7 separate regions of the Homo sapiens genome follow, and regions 1, 2, 4, 5, 6 and 7 are each linked to region 3. The links are contacts of gene promoters, found by promoter capture Hi-C in blood cells and fetal thymus (Javierre and others, 2016). All regions are on one chromosome and are shown on one strand. The core of a region is centred on a gene start or on the middle of the fragment in contact, and the rest is flanking DNA. Distances in the headings are between cores, read along the strand shown.

Evidence for each region. The method cuts DNA at HindIII sites, captures the fragments that hold promoters and counts their contacts. A CHiCAGO score of 5 or more calls a contact.
Region 1: a fragment that was not itself captured here is called in contact with the fragment with the promoter of BDP1 in region 3 in 4 of 17 cell types (non-activated CD4 T cells, total B cells, total CD8 T cells and 1 more); the score reaches 10.7 in non-activated CD4 T cells.
Region 2: a fragment that was not itself captured here is called in contact with the fragment with the promoter of BDP1 in region 3 in 7 of 17 cell types (fetal thymus, naive CD4 T cells, total CD8 T cells and 4 more); the score reaches 10.8 in fetal thymus.
Region 4: a contact is called between a fragment that was not itself captured here and the fragment with the promoter of BDP1 in region 3, in 2 of 17 cell types (naive CD4 T cells and total B cells). The highest score is 6.2, in naive CD4 T cells.
Region 5: a contact is called between a fragment that was not itself captured here and the fragment with the promoter of BDP1 in region 3, in 1 of 17 cell types (activated CD4 T cells). The highest score is 5.2, in activated CD4 T cells.
Region 6: a fragment that was not itself captured here is called in contact with the fragment with the promoter of BDP1 in region 3 in 2 of 17 cell types (fetal thymus and total CD4 T cells); the score reaches 7.9 in fetal thymus.
Region 7: a contact is called between a fragment that was not itself captured here and the fragment with the promoter of BDP1 in region 3, in 1 of 17 cell types (total B cells). The highest score is 6.1, in total B cells.

Annotation. Positions count from the first base shown.
Region 1 is chr5:69,191,483-69,194,331 of GRCh38, reverse strand. It overlaps CENPH (centromere protein H), which reads right to left. Exons shown (of 9, transcript NM_022909.4): 2 at 2,482-2,537. Among named protein-coding and RNA genes, the nearest start is that of CENPH, 3.3 kb to the right of the region's middle. The HindIII fragment of the contact is 5,618 bases long and covers 1-2,849 here.
Region 2 is chr5:69,031,068-69,033,838 of GRCh38, reverse strand. No RefSeq gene overlaps it. Among named protein-coding and RNA genes, the nearest start is that of LINC02198, 2.5 kb to the right of the region's middle. The HindIII fragment of the contact is 957 bases long and covers 887-1,843 here.
Region 3 is chr5:71,454,229-71,457,010 of GRCh38, reverse strand. BDP1 (BDP1 general transcription factor IIIB subunit) reads right to left here and starts at 1,360. Exons shown (of 39, transcript NM_018429.3): 1 at 922-1,360. The coding sequence starts at 1,133. RefSeq lists enhancers at 573-1,498, 1,499-2,425. The HindIII fragment of the contact is 8,261 bases long and covers 1-2,782 here.
Region 4 is chr5:69,107,172-69,109,871 of GRCh38, reverse strand. SLC30A5 (solute carrier family 30 member 5) reads right to left here. Exons shown (of 16, transcript NM_022902.5): 5 at 1,436-1,523. Among named protein-coding and RNA genes, the nearest start is that of SLC30A5, 15 kb to the right of the region's middle. The HindIII fragment of the contact is 3,307 bases long and covers 1-2,700 here.
Region 5 is chr5:69,150,662-69,153,361 of GRCh38, reverse strand. No RefSeq gene overlaps it. Among named protein-coding and RNA genes, the nearest start is that of SNORA50D, 8.8 kb to the left of the region's middle. The HindIII fragment of the contact is 5,938 bases long and covers 1-2,700 here.
Region 6 is chr5:69,171,322-69,174,150 of GRCh38, reverse strand. It overlaps CCNB1 (cyclin B1), which reads right to left. Exons shown (of 9, transcript NM_031966.4): 4 at 2,699-2,829. Among named protein-coding and RNA genes, the nearest start is that of CCNB1, 5.6 kb to the right of the region's middle. The HindIII fragment of the contact is 5,956 bases long and covers 1-2,829 here.
Region 7 is chr5:69,090,069-69,092,768 of GRCh38, reverse strand. No RefSeq gene overlaps it. Among named protein-coding and RNA genes, the nearest start is that of SLC30A5, 2.6 kb to the left of the region's middle. The HindIII fragment of the contact is 6,134 bases long and covers 1-2,700 here.

The DNA of each region.
Region 1 (2,849 bases), core at 116-2,615, 2.3 Mb after region 3:
TGAAAATTAGCCAGGCACAATAGTGCATGCCTGTAGTCCCAGCTACTCGGGAGGCTGAGGTGGGAGGATCGCTTGAGCCCACGAGGTTGGGGTTGCAGTGAGCCAAAATCTTGCTACTGCACTCCAGCCTGGGTGGCTGAGTGAGATCATCTCAAAAAAAAAAACATCAACCAACAAAGACAATGTGGCACTTGTGTAGGGATCAACAAATACCTCAATGGTACAGAAAAAAGCCTAGAACTTCCTGTGATGATGGAAATGTTTCCTATCTATGCTATCCCATAGGATAGCCACTGGCCACATGTGGCAACTGAGCATTTGATATGTACTTGATTTTAAATTTTATTTCATTTTAATTAGCTTTAAAAAGCCACGTGTGGCCAGGGGTGTGATGGCTCATGCCTGTAATCCCAGTACTTTGGGAGGCCGAGGCAGGTGGATCACCTGAGGTCAGGAGTTAAGAGACCAGCCTGGCCAACATGGTGAAACCCGTCTCTACTAAAAATACAAAAATTAGCCGGCCATGGTGGCAGGTGCCTGTAATCCTGGCTACTTGAGAGGCTGAGGCAGTGAATCCGGGAGGCGGAGGTTGCAGTGAGCTAAGATTGCGCCGCTGCACTCTAGCCTGGGCGACAGAACAAGACCCCGTCTCAAAAAAAAAAAAAAAACAGAAAAAACAAAAAAAGAAAATGTTCTGTATCTTTTTTTGGGGGAGACAGGGTCTCCTGTCACTGTCACCCAGGCTGTAGTGTAGTGGTGTGATCTCGGCTCACTGCAGCCTTGATATCCCAGGCTTAAGTAATCCTCCCACCTCAGCTGGGTGGGACTACAGGCACATGGTACCACATCTGGCCAATTGTTTTTTTTAGAGGTGGGGGTCTCGCTATGTTTCCCAGGCTGGTTGCCCTGGGCTCAAGCAATCCTCTCGCCTTGGCCCCTCAAAGTGCTGGGATTACAGATTGATCCACCATGCTCAGCCGAAAATGTTCTGTATCTTGATTGTGGTAGTGATTATACAGATTTAGAAATTTGTCAAAACTCATCAAATTGTACCCTTAAAATAGATGCCTTTATTGTAAAAAACAATCCTTTAACCAATAAAGTCTCAGTCACATATATATACATATACATATATATACATATATACACATACACACACATATATATACATATATATACATATACGTATATGTGTGTGTGTATATATATATATATTTTGTTTGTTTTTGTTTTTGAGACGGAGTTTTGCTCTTGTTGCCCAGGCCAGAGTGCAATGGCGTGATCTCGCGTCACTGCAACCTCCACCTCCCAGGTTCAAGCGATTCTCCTGCCTCAGCCTCCCCGAGTAGCTGAGCTTATAGGCATGCACCACCACGCCCAGCTAATTTTGTATTTTTAGTAGAGACGGGGTTTCTCTACGTTGGTCAGGCTGGTCTCGAACTCCTGACCTCAGGTGATCCGCCCACCTCGGCCTCCCAAAGTGCCGGGATTACAGGTGTGAGCTACCAAGCCCAGCCATATATATATTTTTTAAATGGTAAAAGAATCAATACTTATTTCTCTGTTGATTGCCTGACAGTCTCACTCTGTTGCCCAGTGGAGTGGAGTACAGTACAATCACTCAATCACTTGAGCCCAGGAGTTGGATGTTGTAGTGAGTCCCAGCTGGGACTATAGGTATGTATCACCATATCTGGCTACGTTTTTTTTATTTTTGTAGGGACGAGGTCTCACTTTGTTTCCCAGGCTAATCTCAAACTCTTAGCTTCAAGTGATCTTCTTGTCTTGGCCTCTAAAAGAGCAGATAGTCAATTTTAGATAAACATCTTCTTTCAAAGGCTACAACTAAACTTCCTGTGGCCTGCCTTACATCTGTCGTCTCCTAGGTATAGAAATTCTACAGTGTTAACTAAATCTAGTTTTTGGATGTCACAATCCCTTAAAAATGGTACTAGCTATATAGAGAACAAAAAGACTATTGGAACGTAAACTTTCTTCTCATTTGGATCTGAGCTCTAAAATCATCTTCTTAGAGAAGCCATCCCTATGAAAAGAAGCCCCTCCCTCTTATCATGCCTTTGTTTCCTTCAGCACACTTAGCATACTTCATAAATATCTTGCATGTTTACCAGTTTTGCCACACTATAACATATATAAACAATTTTTGGTAAAGTTAATTTTATTTTCACTCGAGTACTGTTAATCATCAAACTCACAAAATCTTATTTGAGGCCAGGTGTGGTGGCAAAACCCTGTGTCTACAAAAAAAATACAGAAAATTAGACGGGCGCAGTAGCATGTGCCTGTGGTCCCAGTTACTTGGGAGGCTGAGGTGGGAGGATTGCTGGAGCCCAGGAGGCTGAGGCTGCAGTAAACCAGAGACTGCGCCACTACATTACAGCCTGGGTGATAGCAAGACCCTGTCTCAAAAAAACAAACAAACAAACAACAAAACCCTAATTTGAAAATGAAAATACTTACTTGCATCAACCATTGATTTATATTCTAAGAGTTGTTGTTTTGTCTGTGCTCTCAGCCTGAAAACAGATAAAGAGAATATAAAGTCACATATTTATTGATTAAGGTTTTACTCATTACCACATGACGAACCAACTCATTCTTTTTCGGAAGCTGATACAACAAAATAAATATAAATAATTAAACTCCTAATTACAAACTTCTAATTTGGCCTCATTTTATTTAAAATGGGTATAAAGAACTTTAAGGCCTCAGAGGAAGACACAAAATGGAATACACTGGGAAAACAGCATCTGTCAGGAAAAGTTAAAAAATTGGTGTTTAAGATTTTTTTCTTTTTTTGAGACGGAGTCTTGCACTCTTGCCCAGGC
Region 2 (2,771 bases), core at 116-2,615, 2.4 Mb after region 3:
ACCTGCAAAACGGGAGGTAAGTGCTGATTTCAGTATTGGGGAAGTGGAATTTAAACTGTGGGAAGTTCTTAAACATAGGAAAGCTTTTCAAAAGGTGCGGGGCAGCCTGAAACAAATACCTTTGGCAAATACTATACTGTGGGGTGAAACTGCTTTTTTAAAAAAAATTTTAATTTTTTTTTTTTTTTTTTTTTGAGATGGAGTCTTGCTCTGTCTCCCAGGCTGGAGTGCAGTGGCAATCTCGGCTCACTGCAACCTCTGCCTCCTGTGTTCAAGTGATCTTCCCACCTCAGCCTCCTGAGTAGCTGGGATGACAGGCATGTGCCACCACATCTGGCTAATTTTGTTTTGTTTTGTTTTGTTTTGTATTTTCAGTAGAGGCATGGTTTCACCATGTTGGCCAGGCTGGTCTCGAACTCCAGACCTCAACCAATCTGCCTGCCTGGGCCTTCCAAAGTGCTGGGATTACAGGTGTGAGCCACCGCGTCCAGCCAAAACTGCTTTTCAGTGTGTGGGCAGATAGGACATTGTTTCTCTTCCCTTTAGGTGTTTATACTGTGCTGTCCCTGGGGATTAATGTTTGTCATTAGGAGGGGTGTGTGACGGAGCAAGAGATCTAGCAGTTTCCTAGCAGAATGAAGAGGCCCATCTACTCCTCTTACTAGCAGGGAGGCAAGTGATGAGGCCCAGAGATTTGAGGGTCCAAGTTAAGCATTTGCAGGTCCTTGTTTTTCTTCAGTTTAGAATGGAGATTGGTCCATTGCTCAATCCTTGATCTGATGCTCTGAGGCTGGGGCTGTGGGGATTAAGAGATGCAGGGGCTAAAAGCCAGCTGAGTCTTCACAGTTTGTCAAATATAAAGATAAATTGTTTTGAGAATAAAGCTTTATCCTAAAAAGAAAGCAAATCACTAAAGTTTTGTAGCTCATGAGGTTAGAGAAAGGGTCCTTAGCAACTAGTTAGATACTTAAAATGTGGCAAGGTGGTACAGGTAATTGCATTTAGATGTGTAAAAATTAGATTTGTAAGTTTCCAGAGAGGAACTATTGGAAATGGCTCTGTTGGAGATGGGCTAAATTAATTATGGTAAATCCATTTAATGGAATAGTATGTGGCTGTTAAAAGAATGCAATAGTTAAAAGAATACAATAATATTGGGGCTGTTAAAAGAATGCAACAGTTAAAAGAATACAACAATTCCAATGTACAGATATGGAATTCTTTCCAAGAAATTAATAAATAAAAAAAGCAAGGTAAGAAACAGTGAGTAAGTGTCTTAGGCTGAGATCTCTGGAAGCAAAGACTGAGACAGGGATTCTTGTGTTTTTAGGAGAGGTTGCTCCCAGGAGATGGGGTGGGAACAGCATAGAGTAGTGGATAAAAGGTAAGCAAGAGATGATCTCAGTGGATATCAGTGTTAGCCTGATCCCACAGGGAGTTCTGGAGCATGAATTGCACCATAAAGCTGTCCAACCTTTTATACCCCTGTGCTGGCTACAATGTGCCGCAGGATGGAGAATTCTCTATAGAAGGGGGCAACTGTGAACCATTAGCTGCTAACACTCATAGCAGCCAAGAGATGGGTGCACTGGCTTCTTCAGGGGATCTAGGCCGAGCTACAGCAGCACCCCCTGCAGATGGCGTACTGCAGGAAGGATACTGTACTATATATGCTTGTACATGCATGGGAATCTAAGAGTAGATGCTCTTATCCTGGAGTCCATGGATCCCTAAGGGATTCACAGATAGAACAGTATTACAGGCAAATTGGTTTCTTTTGTAATCCTCTGCACTTTAGCTTACATATTTTCAAACATTGTTCTGAGAGGGGGATCCATAAGCTTTATCAGATACTGAAGTGGTCTGTGGTACACACACAAAAATGAAGAGAACAAGAAAGTGGTAACAGTGTTTGCCTTGGGTGGGGGATGAATTCTAGGGGTCTGGAGTCAGGAGTGGGAAAGAGATTCCTATTCTTTGTATATCCTTTTGTGCTATTGGGATTTTTGCTGTGTGCATGGATTACATTCTAAAAAGATTAAAACATAAGAAAATGTATTTTTAAAAACTACCTCCCCACATTTTTTTTTTTAAAGAGACAGAATCTTGCTCTGTCACCCAGGCTGGAGTGCAGTGGTGTGATCGTGGCTCACTGCAGCCTTGAACTCCTGGGCTCAAGCCATCCTCCTGCCTCAGCCTCCTGAGTAGCTGGGACCACAGGTGTGTGCCACCACATCTGGCTAATTTTTAAATTTTTTGTAGAGATGGGGTTTCACTATGTTGTCCAGGCTGGTCTTGAACTCCTGGCCTTAAGCGATTGTCTTGCCTCAGTTTCCTAAAATGTTGGGATTACAACTATGAGCCACTGTACCCAACCCTATTTTTCCTGGATTTTCTCTTCACTCTTACTTCCTACGTTGCCTTTTCTGTTTTATACAATTTCTGCAATTGCTTGTCTTCCTCTTCCTAAAGTCTCTTCCTATCTCTAATGCTTGCATTTGATTTTAAAGCTGTTCTGGCACACTTGAATAGAATCCTGCATAATAATCTTTCACTAATTTTTCCCCCGACTCCTTATCAAATGTTCACTAAAGTGTATAGTTATTTCTTAGCATATATGCACATACTTGCAAAATAGACCACTATAATCTGCACAATTCTTCTTAAATTCAGCTTTTAAAACATGCCTTTAAATGAAGAAAATATTTGTATAATGAGAATAAATTTTGAAGGTTGTTTCACATTCAAGATTCTTTGAGGTTTTTAACCAG
Region 3 (2,782 bases), core at 111-2,610:
TCAACGTAACACCATACACTCAGCACCAGTTCAGGCCAATAGAGGAAGATGTTCCAAAAATAAATAAATGTTTCACCTTCCTATCACAGCATAAACAGAATTTGTACTATCTCACTTCACTTAACAAGGCTGTTTACTGATTTCCTCATATATATAGAAACAGAGACCATCTTAGCCTAACATGTCTTAAATTTACTCCATCACCTTTCTAAAAAACTAGTAACTTTTTGCGGGCAACTATTCTGCTATATCCCCTGCAAGGTAGTTAATATGAATTATCTCCAATCTGCACCAAAACGCTCCAAGTAGGCAATATTATTCCCATTTTGCAGATGAGCAAATTCTGCCTGAGAAAAGTTTACCTGTAGACTAAAAGAGTCCTGAATCCAAATATGATACATGACGCTAAAGCCATGCTTCTCTATTCAGGAAACACGGTCACCATAGTTAAAGAGGCACACTTCAATTAAGTGACCAGAACTCTTACTCACTGACATAAATCGGTAAAGCCAAAGCAATACTTATCTTCTCCTTTAAAAAATAAATATTTTATAAATTGAAAGACAAAAACACTTCCCTGCAAAGCACTCCAGAAGGATGAAAACTATAGTGACCTAAATTCTCAAATGAATAGTGTGGATATTCTTCACTTCAGGACTGCCATACCCCGATTCTCCCTACCACCACTTGAAGACATGGTCTCCTCTCGGAGAATCTATAGACCGTGACAAAATCCACACAAGCCACACCCTGCAGGTCAGACAACTAAACTGCAGTTTGGAGTGGTTTCATCAAGCCTCAACTGAAAGGCTTACTGCAAACGAGAGCGGACTCCTGTGATAAAATTCATTTGCTCAGCTTCCAGGTGACATGCCCGGAGAGGCGGGACAAATGAAAATTCTTCCCTCTGCAACCTCTTACCTGCTCCTAGGAGCCTTTTCTTGGGGCTCCGCTCCACCGAAATCGACTGTGGGCACATCTGTGGGCTCCGCGGGCTTGGAAGCAGAGTCCGTGGCAGGATCCGGCGGCCTGGGAGACTCCCGTCCACGCTGGGGATTGGAAGCTGTGGAGCCCCTGGCGCCTACACCAGGCCTGACATTCGGCTTCACGCTAAGGCGTGCCCTGCGGAACATGGCGGAGGCAGGGGGCCCGGGGAGGCAGCCTCACGGCCGCTCACAGCCCCGAGCCCCGGCGGCTGCCCGGAAAGGGGATTAGGAACTACGCCCTCCCCACAAAGCCACACCACCAGCTCAGGGGGCAGCTACCGTAGTTTCACTGCCCCGCCGCCGCCTCCTCCTCTCTCCCGCCGCCGCCGCTTTTTCATGACCCTGCCACACACCGATGGCTAAATTTCACCCTCCTCCCAGCATCCCCGCGCTCACAGGACGCCGCAACTGATTGCGCCATCAGCCAGCGCCGCAGAATGACGTCAGACGCACAGCACTGGGAGCCATGGTAACTACCAAGCTACTGAGACTGGGTTACCTGCGGACCAGAAATTGAGATGCAGAGATATTTGCTCTTTCTTCTCCAGGAGTCCTTAGGAGTAGTTGAAAAGAGGAACAGAAGAAAGTCCACTTCTCTGCTCAAACCTTTACTGGAACTATTAAAATCGCTGGCCGATTTTGTCTTTTGAAGATCCTGAAGGGTTTAGAAATTCTAAATTGAGTAGACATAGATTAAAAATGCTGGTGTGAAGAAACTGATAATAGTTACCTCCCAGGAGAGGAATGTGTTTCTGGAAAACACGTCGTGGTAGGAAGACCATTTACCGTACGCCTTTGTGTACTTTTTTGTTTTTGTCCTTTGAGACAGGGTCTTGCTCTGTCGCCTAGGCTGGAGTGTGCAGTTGCGCGATCTTGGCTCACTGCAGCCTCCACCTCTCGGGCTCAGGCGATCCTCCCGTCACAGCCTCCCAAGTTGCTGGGACCACAGGCACGCGCCACGACACCCGGCTAATTTTTTTTTTCTCGTATATTTAGTAGAGACGGGGTTCATCATGTTGCTTAGGCTGATCTTGAACTCCTAGGCTCAAGCGAGCCACCCATTTGGCCTCCCAAAGTGCTGGGATTACAGACGTGAGCCACCACGCCCAACCTCCTTGTGTACTTTTTAATATGAATGTATCACCCGAGATCGTACCACTACACTCCAGCCTGTTTAAAAATTATTATAGTTGAAACCTTGTAAATTATTGTGAGTGTTCTTAATCTGCTTCAGGAGGTAGCAGTAAACAAGACGTTCTGGATTTGGGAGGAGAAAATACAAAAAAGAAATGAACAAGATATTTTTAAAATGTATCAGGCCCGGCGTGGGTGCCTCATGCCTGTAATCCCAGCATTTTAGGAGGCTAAGGCAAGGCAGATTGCTTGAGGTCAGGAGTTCGAGACCAGCCTGGCCAACATGGTTAAACTCCATCTCTACTAAAAATACAAAAATGAGCCAGGCCTGGTGGTGCAAGCCTGTAATCCCAGCTATGGGAGGCTGAGACAGGAGAATGGCTTGAACCCTGGAGGTGGAGGCTGCCGGGAGCCAAGATGGCACCACTGCACTCTAGCCTAGGCAACAGAATGAGTGAGACTCTGTCTTAAAATAAATGAATTAATTAATTAATTGCAATAAAATAAAGTATATCAAATGTCATGAAATAAATTTAAGGGTTGAATGCCGGGTATGGCGAGGCACGCCTATAATCCCAGCTACTGTGGAGACTGAAGTGGGAGGATCTCTTGAGCCCAAGACTTCCAGACCAACCTGCTCAAAATATTGAGACCCCTAAAAC
Region 4 (2,700 bases), core at 130-2,629, 2.3 Mb after region 3:
TCCTTCACTAAATACCTGTGTCTGAGTGCATTTGTTGTTCAGCCAGGGTCTGCAAGTAGGACCCAGCAAGGAAGTGTTTAATTTGGTAAAACAGAAACACTATATAGTTCTAACAGTTTGGAATTGTAGATTGGTAACTCATTTAACAAAAGGATAATACTTGAATCACTTAGGATGAATAGGAGTGCTTAGGTGGCAAAATGTTGGATAAATGTTCATCATAATTTAAATTTAACAAGTTTTTAGTTATTTTTCAAAAATGATTTACAGGGTTAAGAATGAGTAGGGGGTTTGGGGGAAAGGTGCATGAGTACAACATGAAAGAGATCATTGTGGTGATGCATCAGTTCTATATCTTGCTTGTAATGATGGTTACACAAATCTACACATGACAAAATTTCATAGACCTACATGCATACATACATACATACACACACACACGATCGTATGTAAAATTGGTAAAATCTGAGTAAGGTCTATGGATTGCACCAATGTCAATTTCCTGTTTTTTTTTTTAATTTTTGATTTTAATTTTTGTGGGTACATAGTAGGTATATGTATTTATGGGGTATACGAGATGTTTTGATATAGGCATGCAATGTATATAATCACATCAGGTAAATTGGGGTATCCATCCCCTCGAGCATTTAGCCTTTGTGTTACAAATAATTCAATTATACTCTTTTAGTTATTTTAAATGTATGATTAAATTATTGTTGATTATAGTCACCCTATTGTGATATGAAATACTAGGTCTAATTGACTGGTTTTGATAGTGTACTTGAGTTGGTTAAGAAGTTACCTTTGGGGGAAACTAAATGAAGGGTGAGGGTCCTCTATGTACTATTTTAGCAACTTCCTAGGAATCTATAATCATTTCAAAATCATTTTCCACTGTTTCCATGTTAAGAAATTTCTCCAACTACGGATTATATTTTCACAAATATCTATTTTTGTAAACTTATAGAATTCTTCAAAAACAAAAAAATTGTAAGAAAAATGTAAAACTAGCGGAAAAAGCCCCTGGAATTTTTTTTTTTTTTTTTTTTTGAGGCTGAGTCTCACTCTATTGCCCAGGTTGGAGTGCAGTGGCATGATCTCAGCTCACTGTAACCTCCGCCTCCCAGGTTCAAGCAATTCTCATGCCTCAGCCTCCAGAGTAGCCGGGATTACAGGTGCCCACCACCATGCCCAGCTAATTTTTGTATTTTTAGTGGAGATGGAATTTCACCACGTTGGCTAGGCTGGTCTCAAGCTCCTGACCTCATGTAATCCGCCCACCTCAGCCTCCCACAGTGTTGGGATTACAGGCGTGAGCCATCGCGCTCAGCCTCCTGCATTCTTTTAAATGGTGAAAGATAAGATTTTATTCCTTTGGATAATATGTGACATACATACTTTCCATTTCCAAGTAACTGATAATGGAAAATTCTACCTTTGCTGGTCCTCCTCCAGAACTGGTGAACAAAACACTGAGTAGTGAAATGACAACAATATCACTGTGCTCAAATAGCAGCAAAGTCCTACAAAAATAAAACATTATCATTTATGAAATGTAATTTATCTTTATCAAGACGCATGAATTCAACTAGAGTTAGAGAAAGAAAAACATTTCCCCTTGATTTCACAAAACATAAGAAAAATAAATAGGTACAACTGCTTTAGAAAATGGTTTGGCATTATCTACCTTAGAAAGATTGAAGCTACAAATACCTAATCATACCACTCATAGAATTATGTCATACAGATTTCTTATTCTTGTATAGGTATGTATCAGGTAACACTTACCAGGTTGCTCATACCAGCACTGTTTGCAGTAATCCAAAAAAATACAGGCAATGTGGCTGGGTATGGTGGCTCACACCTATAATCCAGCACTTTGGGAGCCCAAGGCAGGGGGATCACGAGGTCAAAAGATCGAGACCACTCTGGCCAACATGGTGAAACCCCATCTCTACTAAAAATACAAAAATTGGCTGGGCGTGGTGGCACATGCCTGTAATCCCAGCTACTCGGGAGGCTGAGGCAGGAGAATCACTTGAACTCGGGAGGTGGAGGTTGCAGTAAGCCAAGATCGGGCCACTGCATGCCAGCCTGGTGACACAGTGAGACTCCATCTCAAAAAAAAAAAAAAAAAGTACAGGCAACATATACCCATGTGCTGCATAACATTATTTTGGTCAATGGTAGACCACATATATACGATGGTGGTGCCATAAGATTATAATGGAGCTGAGAAATTCCAGTCACCTAGTGTTAATGCATTACTCATGTGTTTCTGGTGATGCTGGTGTAAACAAGCCTACTGCACTGCCAGTCATATAATACAGTACATACAATTATATACAGAACATAAGACTTGATAATGATAATAAATGACTATGCTACTGGTTTATGTATTTACTATACTATAAATTATTTTAGAATGTACTTTTGCTTGTTAAAAATAAAAGTAACTATATCCTTTGACTTCAAATAGTGGTGTCAAAAACAAAAAAAAAGTTAACTGTAAAATAGCTTCAGACAGGTCCTTCAGGAGGTACCCCAGAAGAAGGCATTGTTATAGGAGATGACAATTCCTTGCATGTTACTGCCCCTGAAAACTTTCTAGTGGGACAAGATGTGGAGGTAGAAGACAGTAATATTGATAATCCTGACCCTGTGTAGGTATAGGCTAATGTGTGCATGTCTTAGTTTTTA
Region 5 (2,700 bases), core at 40-2,539, 2.3 Mb after region 3:
CTACAAAAAACTCTTTAAAAAATTAGCCTGGTGTGGAGGCATGCACCTGTGATGCTAGCTACTTGGGAAGCTGAGGCAGGAGGATCATTTGAGCTAAGGTGGTTGGGGCTGCAGTGAGCCATGATCACACCACTGTACTCCAGCCTGAGCGACAGAGTGAGACCCTGTCTCAAAAAAAAGATATACAAGAGGCGAGGTCTACTAGTCTACTAGACAGAGGTCAGGATGGGAGATATAATCCCTTTTTGCTGTAGAGGGCCTTTTATGCCTGACACAGATGAGATCATCTAGGGAAGGAACATACAGAAGAGTAGATGCCCAGAAGCAAGGTCTGGGCCTTCCATATTTAAAGATGGAGCGGAGGAAGAAAAGCCATCTAAGAATATTGGGCAAGAACACCAGAGAGGCAGGAGAACTGATTGTGGTATCTCAGAAAAGAGAAGTCAGTGTTTCACAGAGGGAGTAGTGATCTAACATGACAGACTAATACACACGTATCTTGGTTACTTCCTCAAGCTCTGCCAAAACAATGGTTTTTAAAAGATGCATGATGGCCAGGCACGGTGGCTCACACCTGTAATCCCAGAACTTTGGGAGGCTGTGGAGGATCACTTGAGCCCAAAGGTTTGAGACCTAGGCAACATAGTGAGACCCTGTTTCAAAAAAAAAATTAGCCGAGCATGGTGGTGGGCGCCTGTAGTCCCAGCTATTCAGGAGGCTGATGCGGGAGGATTACTTGAGCCTGGGAGGTTGAGGCTGCAGTGAGCTATGATCATGCCACTGTACCCCAGCCTGGGTGACAGAGTGAGACCCTGTCTCAAAAAAAAAAAACCGAAAAAACAAAAACAACAAAAAAGAATTGGTTGTTGATATTTTTAGCTGGATGAAAATATTTTTAAAATATAAAAAAGAATTTAAAAAAGAAAAGAATTGGTTGATTCCATCCTGCTCAGCTGAGTGCAGTAAGAGCACAACCTCTCCTTGGTCCTGGCAGACGACTAGAGGTTTATGTTCTGGAGTGGCTGAACTAAAGGGGTTCTGGATTTCAGGAGACCAGGCAAGCTGAGAGGGGCTTTAAGTAAAATTGTGCATACCAAATGGTAAGACCTCCAGTCGCCTTCTCCTACCCAGTCCCCAAAAGGCTGGCAGCTGGACTTATACCCTTCTAAGTGAAGTAAGAGAATGGTTTCTGGGGAATGGATCAGCCCAACAGAAAAAGTTCTAAAAATATTGATGGTTAGGAAAGGTCCCCATGAAATGACTGGGCCACCGCTTGGTTACCCTTATACTGAAGCTCACCACTTGACATGCTTGCACACTGACACAGAGCTTCTAATACATATATATGGAGAGAGAGAGAGAGAGAGAGAGAGAGGATCTTGCTATACTGCCCAGGTTAGTCTTAAACTCCTGGGTTTAAGTGATGCTCCTGTCTTAGCCTCCTGAATAGCTGGGATTACAGGCATGAGTTACTATGCTTGGCCTAATCTATATGTATGTATATCTTAGCCTCTCAAATAGCTGGGATTACAGGCACAAGTCAGTATACCTGGCCTAATCTATATATACAGATATATATAGATCTACAGCATTACTGGGCTTGGGGTGTCCCCTGGAGAGATAAAGAGAGAGAGGCAGACAGAGTCTCACTCTCTGGCCCAAGCTAGAGTGCAGAGGTGCGAACATGGCTTCTTTGCAGCCTCGACCTGCCGGTCTCAAGCCATCCTCTCACCTCAGCCCCCCAAGTAGCTTGGACTACAGGCAAGCACTACCACACCCCACTCATTTTTGTATTTTTTGTAGAGATGGTGTTTCACCATGTTGCCCAGGCTGGTCTCAAATTCCTGAGCTCAAGTGATCTACCTGCCTTGGCCTCCCAAAGTGCTGAGATTACAGGTGTGAGCCACTATGCCTGGCCAATATGTGTGTTTTTTTTTTTTTTGAGATGGAGTCTTGCTCTGTTGCCTAGGCTGGAGTGCAGTGGGCACAATCTCAGCTCACTGCAAGCTCTGCCTTCCGGGTTCATGCCATTCTCCTGCCTCAGCCTCCCAAGTAGCTGGGACTACAGGCTCCCGCCACCACGCCCAGCTAATTTTTTTGTATTTTTAGTGGAGATGGGGTTTCACTGTGTTAGCCAGGATAGTCTCCATCTCCTGACCTCATGATCCCATGATCTGCCCACCTCAGCCTCCCAAAGTGCTGGGATTACAGGTGTGAGCCTGGCCTGTTTTTTTTTTTTTTTTTTTTAGACAGGGTCTTACTCTATCACACAGGCTGGAGTGCAGTGGTACAGTCATGGCTCACTGCAGCCTTGACCTCCTGGGCTCAAGCAGTCCTCCCATCTCAGCCTCCCAAGTAGGTGGGACTATAGGCGTGAGTCACCACATCTAACTTTTTAATTTTTTGTAGAGATGAGTTCTCAATATGTTTCCCAGGCTGCTTTGGAACTCTTAGGTTCAAGCAATCCTGCCTCAGCTTCCCGATGTGCTGGGGTTACAGGTGTGAACCACCATACCCAGCCTTAATCAATATATTATTATTTTTTGAGACCGAGTCTCACTCTGTTGACCAGGCAATAGTGTGATCTTTGGGCTCACTGCAACCTCTGCCTCCTGGGTTCAAGCAATCCTCCTGCCTCAGCCTCTTGAGTAGCTGGGACTACAGGAGCCTGCCACCACGCCTGGCTGATTTTTGTATTTT
Region 6 (2,829 bases), core at 316-2,815, 2.3 Mb after region 3:
ATAATCTATATCAGTTCTTAATTCAATTATTCATATGGTCAACCACAAACAACACCATCACCAAGAAATAAAGCAAACATGAAGGCTGGCGTGGTGGCTCACGCCTGTAATCCCAGCACTTTGGGAGGCTGAAGTTGGCAGATTGCTTGCAGCCAGGAGTTCGAGACCAGCCTGGCCAACATGGCAAAACCTGTCTTTACTAAAAATACAAAAATTAGCTGGGCATGGTTGCGCACACCTGTAGTTCCAGCTACTTGGGAGGCTGAGGCAGGAGAATTGCTTGAACCTGGCAGGTGGAGGTTGCAGGGAGCCGAGATTGCACCACTGCACTCCAGCCTGGGTGACAGAGTGAGACTGTCTCCCCACCCCAAAAAAAAAAGAAAAAAAAGGCAAACATTAGATAGGACAGTATGACAGCTTTTTTATATTGTCAGGTCTTACGATATTCTTCACCACAACTGCTGCTGGTCCACTCCCTTCCAAATAAAGATACTACATTATCATCTCAGATCTTTTCACTTAAGCCTCTAAACTTAGAACCTGAGCTTTATGTAGAGAAAATATCAGTAACTCCCAGGGCAGCTGGAACCCATGTACTACAACACTCCTGCCTGCTCCTGGGTTAAATCCCAACAGCAACATAGCTAAGAACTGTGGGGACAACAGTGACTTTATTTTAAATACTAATTCAATGTGACTTCTGCCTATTCACTTTAAGTTTGGCCTTTCCTCCAAAACAGCCCTTGATATTATTGTATACATTATAGGCTGTGATGTCTGCAGCATTCTGTCAGCCACCCACACATTGATTCTAGAGCATGTATACTTTGCCCAAGAAAATGTATACATACCCAAGCCGTGGGTACGAGGGGTTACAGTGCAGAGATCTACATCTTACAGCCATCAAAGACCATACTTATGTCTGTAAATTCCCCCTCATCAGTCACCCAATACCAGCAAACTCCATTTATCTGCCTAATTCCTTGGTTTCTCAGCTCCTCTGCCACTTGAGGGGTTGCTTTGCATAAATGGCCTTGCACAGAACAAGAACGAAGCATCAAGAAACAGCACATTTACAGGCTGGGCGCGGTGGCTCACACCTATAATCCCAGCACTTTGGGAGGCCAAGGCGGGTGGATCATGAGGTCAGGAGATTGAGACCATCCTGGCTAACACGGTGAAACCCCGTCTCTACTAAAAATATAAAAAATTAGCCAGGCGTGGTGGCGGATGCCTGTAGTCCCAGCTACTCAGGAGGCTGAGGCAGGAGAATGGCGTGAACCCGGGAGACAGAGCTTGCAGTGAGCCGAGATTGTGCCACTGCACACCAGCCTAGGTGACACAGCGAGACTCTGTCCCAAAAAAAAAAAAAAAAAAAAAAGAAACAGCACATTTACTAAATTGAATCCTCCAAAGTTAGAACACAACTTTAAAAAGCACTAGAAAGATGGAAGAAGAAACTAAAAGCAGAAGGCTGCTCCTGGCAAAGAAGTCTTGCAGAAGAATCCTATAGAAAAAGGAGAGGCCAAAAAGGAGCAGGCAAGAGATGAACATGTCAGTGATGACATAAGACAACACATTAGAAACAACTGGGGGCTGGGTGCGGTTGCTCAGGCCTGTAATCCCAGCACTTTGGGAGGCCGGGATGGGTAGATCATCTAAGGTCAGGAGTTCGAGACCAGCCTGGCCAATATGGTGATACCTCATCTCTACTAAAAGTACAAAAATTAGCTGGGTGTTGTGGTGGGCACCTGTAATCCCAGCTGCTCGGGATGCTGAGGCATGAGAATCACTTGACCCGAGGCGGAGGCTGGACTGAGCCGAGATTGCACCACTGCACTCCAGCCTGGGCAACAGAGCAAGACCCTGTCTCAAAAAAACCAAAACCAAATAAAAATACAAAAAATTAGCCAGGCATGGTGGTGTGTGCCTGCAACCCCAACTACTTGGGAGGCCGAGGCAGGAGAATTGCTTGAACCCAGGAGACAGAGACTGCAGTGAGCTGAGACCGCACCACTGCCCTCTAGCCTGGGCGACAGTGTGAGACTCCATCTCAAAAAAACAAAACAACAACAACAAAAAAACTACGTAAATGTGGTAACAGTATAATTTATGTTACTATGTTTATGCTGCCATAAAGAGTGCTTGTATTTGTAGGGAAAGGGCAAATGCCATTAATAGAAAGTTTCAAAAGTGGGATCAAATTGAAGTGAACCAAAAAAGTAGCTTTTGAGTGTACTCCTTTTGGGCACAAATAATTTCACCAACAACTGGATGCACATCAGCCACACTAACACAAAATGCCTTGTGTTAGGGGTGGCTGTAGTCTTTGAGTATATTCTACATCCTCATCCACTTCCTGACCCGTTATCACCTAAAATGCAGAGTTTGGGACTTAACCATTCCAAACGTGGTGGAGATCGCATATATACATATCAAATTCAATCTGTGGATTTTCCTTTAGAAAGCGATAGTAGTATCCACCCTAACTTCGAACTTTCCTGCACAAAGTGACAAATAGACTCCATTGGTTTATTTAGTGACTTTTTATTATAGGTATTCCATGAAGGAGAATTTGAAAGTGCGATCTCTTAAGAAATGCTGCCCACGTCCTGCTTGTATTATTATAAACTATTGATGGAAAATACTTTCATAAAGTTAGATGCAGTTTAGAAAAAAAACGAATGATAATACTTACCTCAAGTTGTCTCAGATAAGCATAAATATCTTTCACATATTCACTACAAAGGTTTGGATCAGCTCCATCTTCTGCATCCACATCATTTACTGCAAGAATTACATCAGAGAAAGCCTGACACAGGTCTTCTT
Region 7 (2,700 bases), core at 43-2,542, 2.4 Mb after region 3:
CGGAGGAAGGTGACTGCTTTTGTGGCTTTTTGTGTGGGGCCTGGAGTACTGGTAACCGTTGTTGCTAGAGGCCCTGGAATCCAACTGTGTGAGGACAGAACATAGGAGAAGGAAGAGGATTTTGTTAAGTGTTGCTGCAAACTGTTTTGTCTCCTTTTTGAAAAGGAAAGCGTTGATTTTCTTTAAATTCTGCCTGTGAAACTGTGTAATCCAGGCACATCTGTAAAAACAGGTCAGGTAGTGTTACCTGAAAAGGGGGTCCCCATCCAGACCCCAGGAGAGCTTGGATCTCACGCAAGAAAGAATTCGAGGCAAGTCCATACAGTAAAGTGAAAGCAAGTTTATTAAAAAAGTAAAGGAATAAAAGAATGGCTACTCCATAGGCAGAGGGCACAGTGGCTCATGCCTGTAATCCCAGCAGTTGGGAGGCTGAGGCGGGTGGATCACCTGAGGTCAGGAGTTTGAGACCAGCCTGACCAACATGGCGAAACCCTGTCTCTACTAAAAATACAAAATTAGTCGGGTGGGGTGGTGCATGCCTGTACTCCCAGCTACTCGGGAGGCTGAGGAGGAGAATGGCTTGAACCCGGAGATGGAGGTTGCAGTGAGCCAAGATCGCGCCATTGCACTCCAGCCTGGGCAACAAGAGTGAAACTCCGTCTCAAAAAAAAAAAAATAATAATAGTAATAAGAATGCCCAACCTCCTGGGAATGCAGCCGAGTAAGTCTCCCCCTTGTTTTACCCAGCCCCTATTCAAGATGGAGGCACTCTGGGTCAAACGCCTCTGACAAGTAGGACTGGGTATTATAAAGGTTATTTTTCTGTTGCTAAAAATTTAGGAATGTGGGTTCCTGTGTCAGTCTTGGTTTGAATCCCAACTCTGCCACTTAGTAATTGTGGGATCTTGGGTCAGTTAGTTGGCCTTTCTGCGCCACAGTTTTTTTTTTATATGCAAAGTAGGAATAGTAATATTTATATTGTAGGGTTGTTGGGAGGATTATACATGTGTTAATAAGTGAAAAGTCTCTAGAACTTGCTAGGTTTTGAAGGGAACAGGAGGGTTAAAGAAAGACACACACACACACACACACACACACACACACACACACACACACACACAGAAAGAGGGCGGCTCGACAGTAAATGCAGGCTTTATGTCCAGCATAAAACCTACAGATGTGGGGGACCAGCTTAATGCCAGAGCCCACCACTGCTTATAGGCTGGGGGTATTTATAGGTATGGGCGGTAAGGGTCTGGGCAGTATGGCTTGCTGCCTGGCAGGATATTGATAAGATGTTCCTGTGATGAGGCAGTTCTGGCCCTTGTTCTGGCAGATGTCATCATGGTATTCCTTGGAACTTTGCCCAGCAAGATATGATAGGGATGTTTCTTTATTTGGGCCTTTGTCTGCCTTGTGGTCAAGTGGTTAGACAGGATGTTTCTTACAGCCCCGAACCCCTGTGAAATGTTTCACTTTGACCAAGGTCTGCAAAATTAGTGGGGAGCTTACAAAATGGTGCAGTTTGGACTAACAGAACTGTTGTCAGAGGCGTTTGAACCGGGGCAACTCCATCTTGAATAGGAGCTGGGTAAAATAAGGCTGAGACCTACTGGGCTGTATTCCCAGACAGTTAAGACATTCTAAGAGATGTCTATGGGGGTAGCCATTCTTTATTCTTTATTCCTTTACTTTCCTAATAAACTTGCTTTCACTTTATGGACTTGCCCTGAATTTTTTTTTTATTTGGACACGGAGTTTTGCTCTTGTTGCCCAGGCTGGAGTGCAATGGCATGATCTCGGCTCACTGCAACCTCCACCTCCCAGGTTCAAGCGATTCTCCTACCTCAGCCTCCCCAGTAGCTGGGACTACAGGCATGCGCCACCACACCCAGCTAATTTTGTATTTTTAGTAGAGACAGGGTTTCTCCATGTTGGTCAGGCTGGTCTCGAACTCCTGATCTTGGGTGATCCACCTGCCTCGGCCTCCCAAAGTGCTGGGATTACAGGCGTGAGCCACCAAGCCTGGCCCTGAATTCTTTCTTTCATGAGCTCCAAGAACCCTGTCTTGAGGTCTGGATCTGGACCCCTTTCCTGTAGCACTATGAATAGTATAAAATGTCACTCAATAGATGTTAAATATTATTATTACTCTGGGAAATTTGGGGATGATTTGGAGATGAAAATCGGGTTTTGAGCAGTATAAATTATAATTAATTTACAATACTCTAATTTGAATACACACAAAGACCTTTAGTAGCATAAAAAAAAACGAGGTATCACAGTCTGTCTACTGGAACTTTATTGTTGAAACCACCTTTGCAAAATTATAACAGTGAGAAAATTATGGCAAAAGAGATCTGATCTAATCAAACCCTGTCTTGCCTTTAGCTTTCAAACTGCCCTTAATCATTCTTGGGCTTGGGCCAAGCTAACTTTGGGAGACATTTATAGTTTAAATGATAATGGCCCTTCCCCCAAACTCAATTACCTTTGTAAAGCTATTGAGAGACCATCAGGCTAGGAGAATGAGAGGAGCCTGAATTCTGCTAAGGCGTAGACATCAAGGAGCGCTAGACAGTATTCCAGAGGTCACAACTTACCTAATTACTCCTGCAGATAACATCACTCTTGTAGAACCTAAGATTGGCCTTTTGAGACATCTTTTCAGTTTTTTTTCTGTTTTTTTTTTTTTTTTTT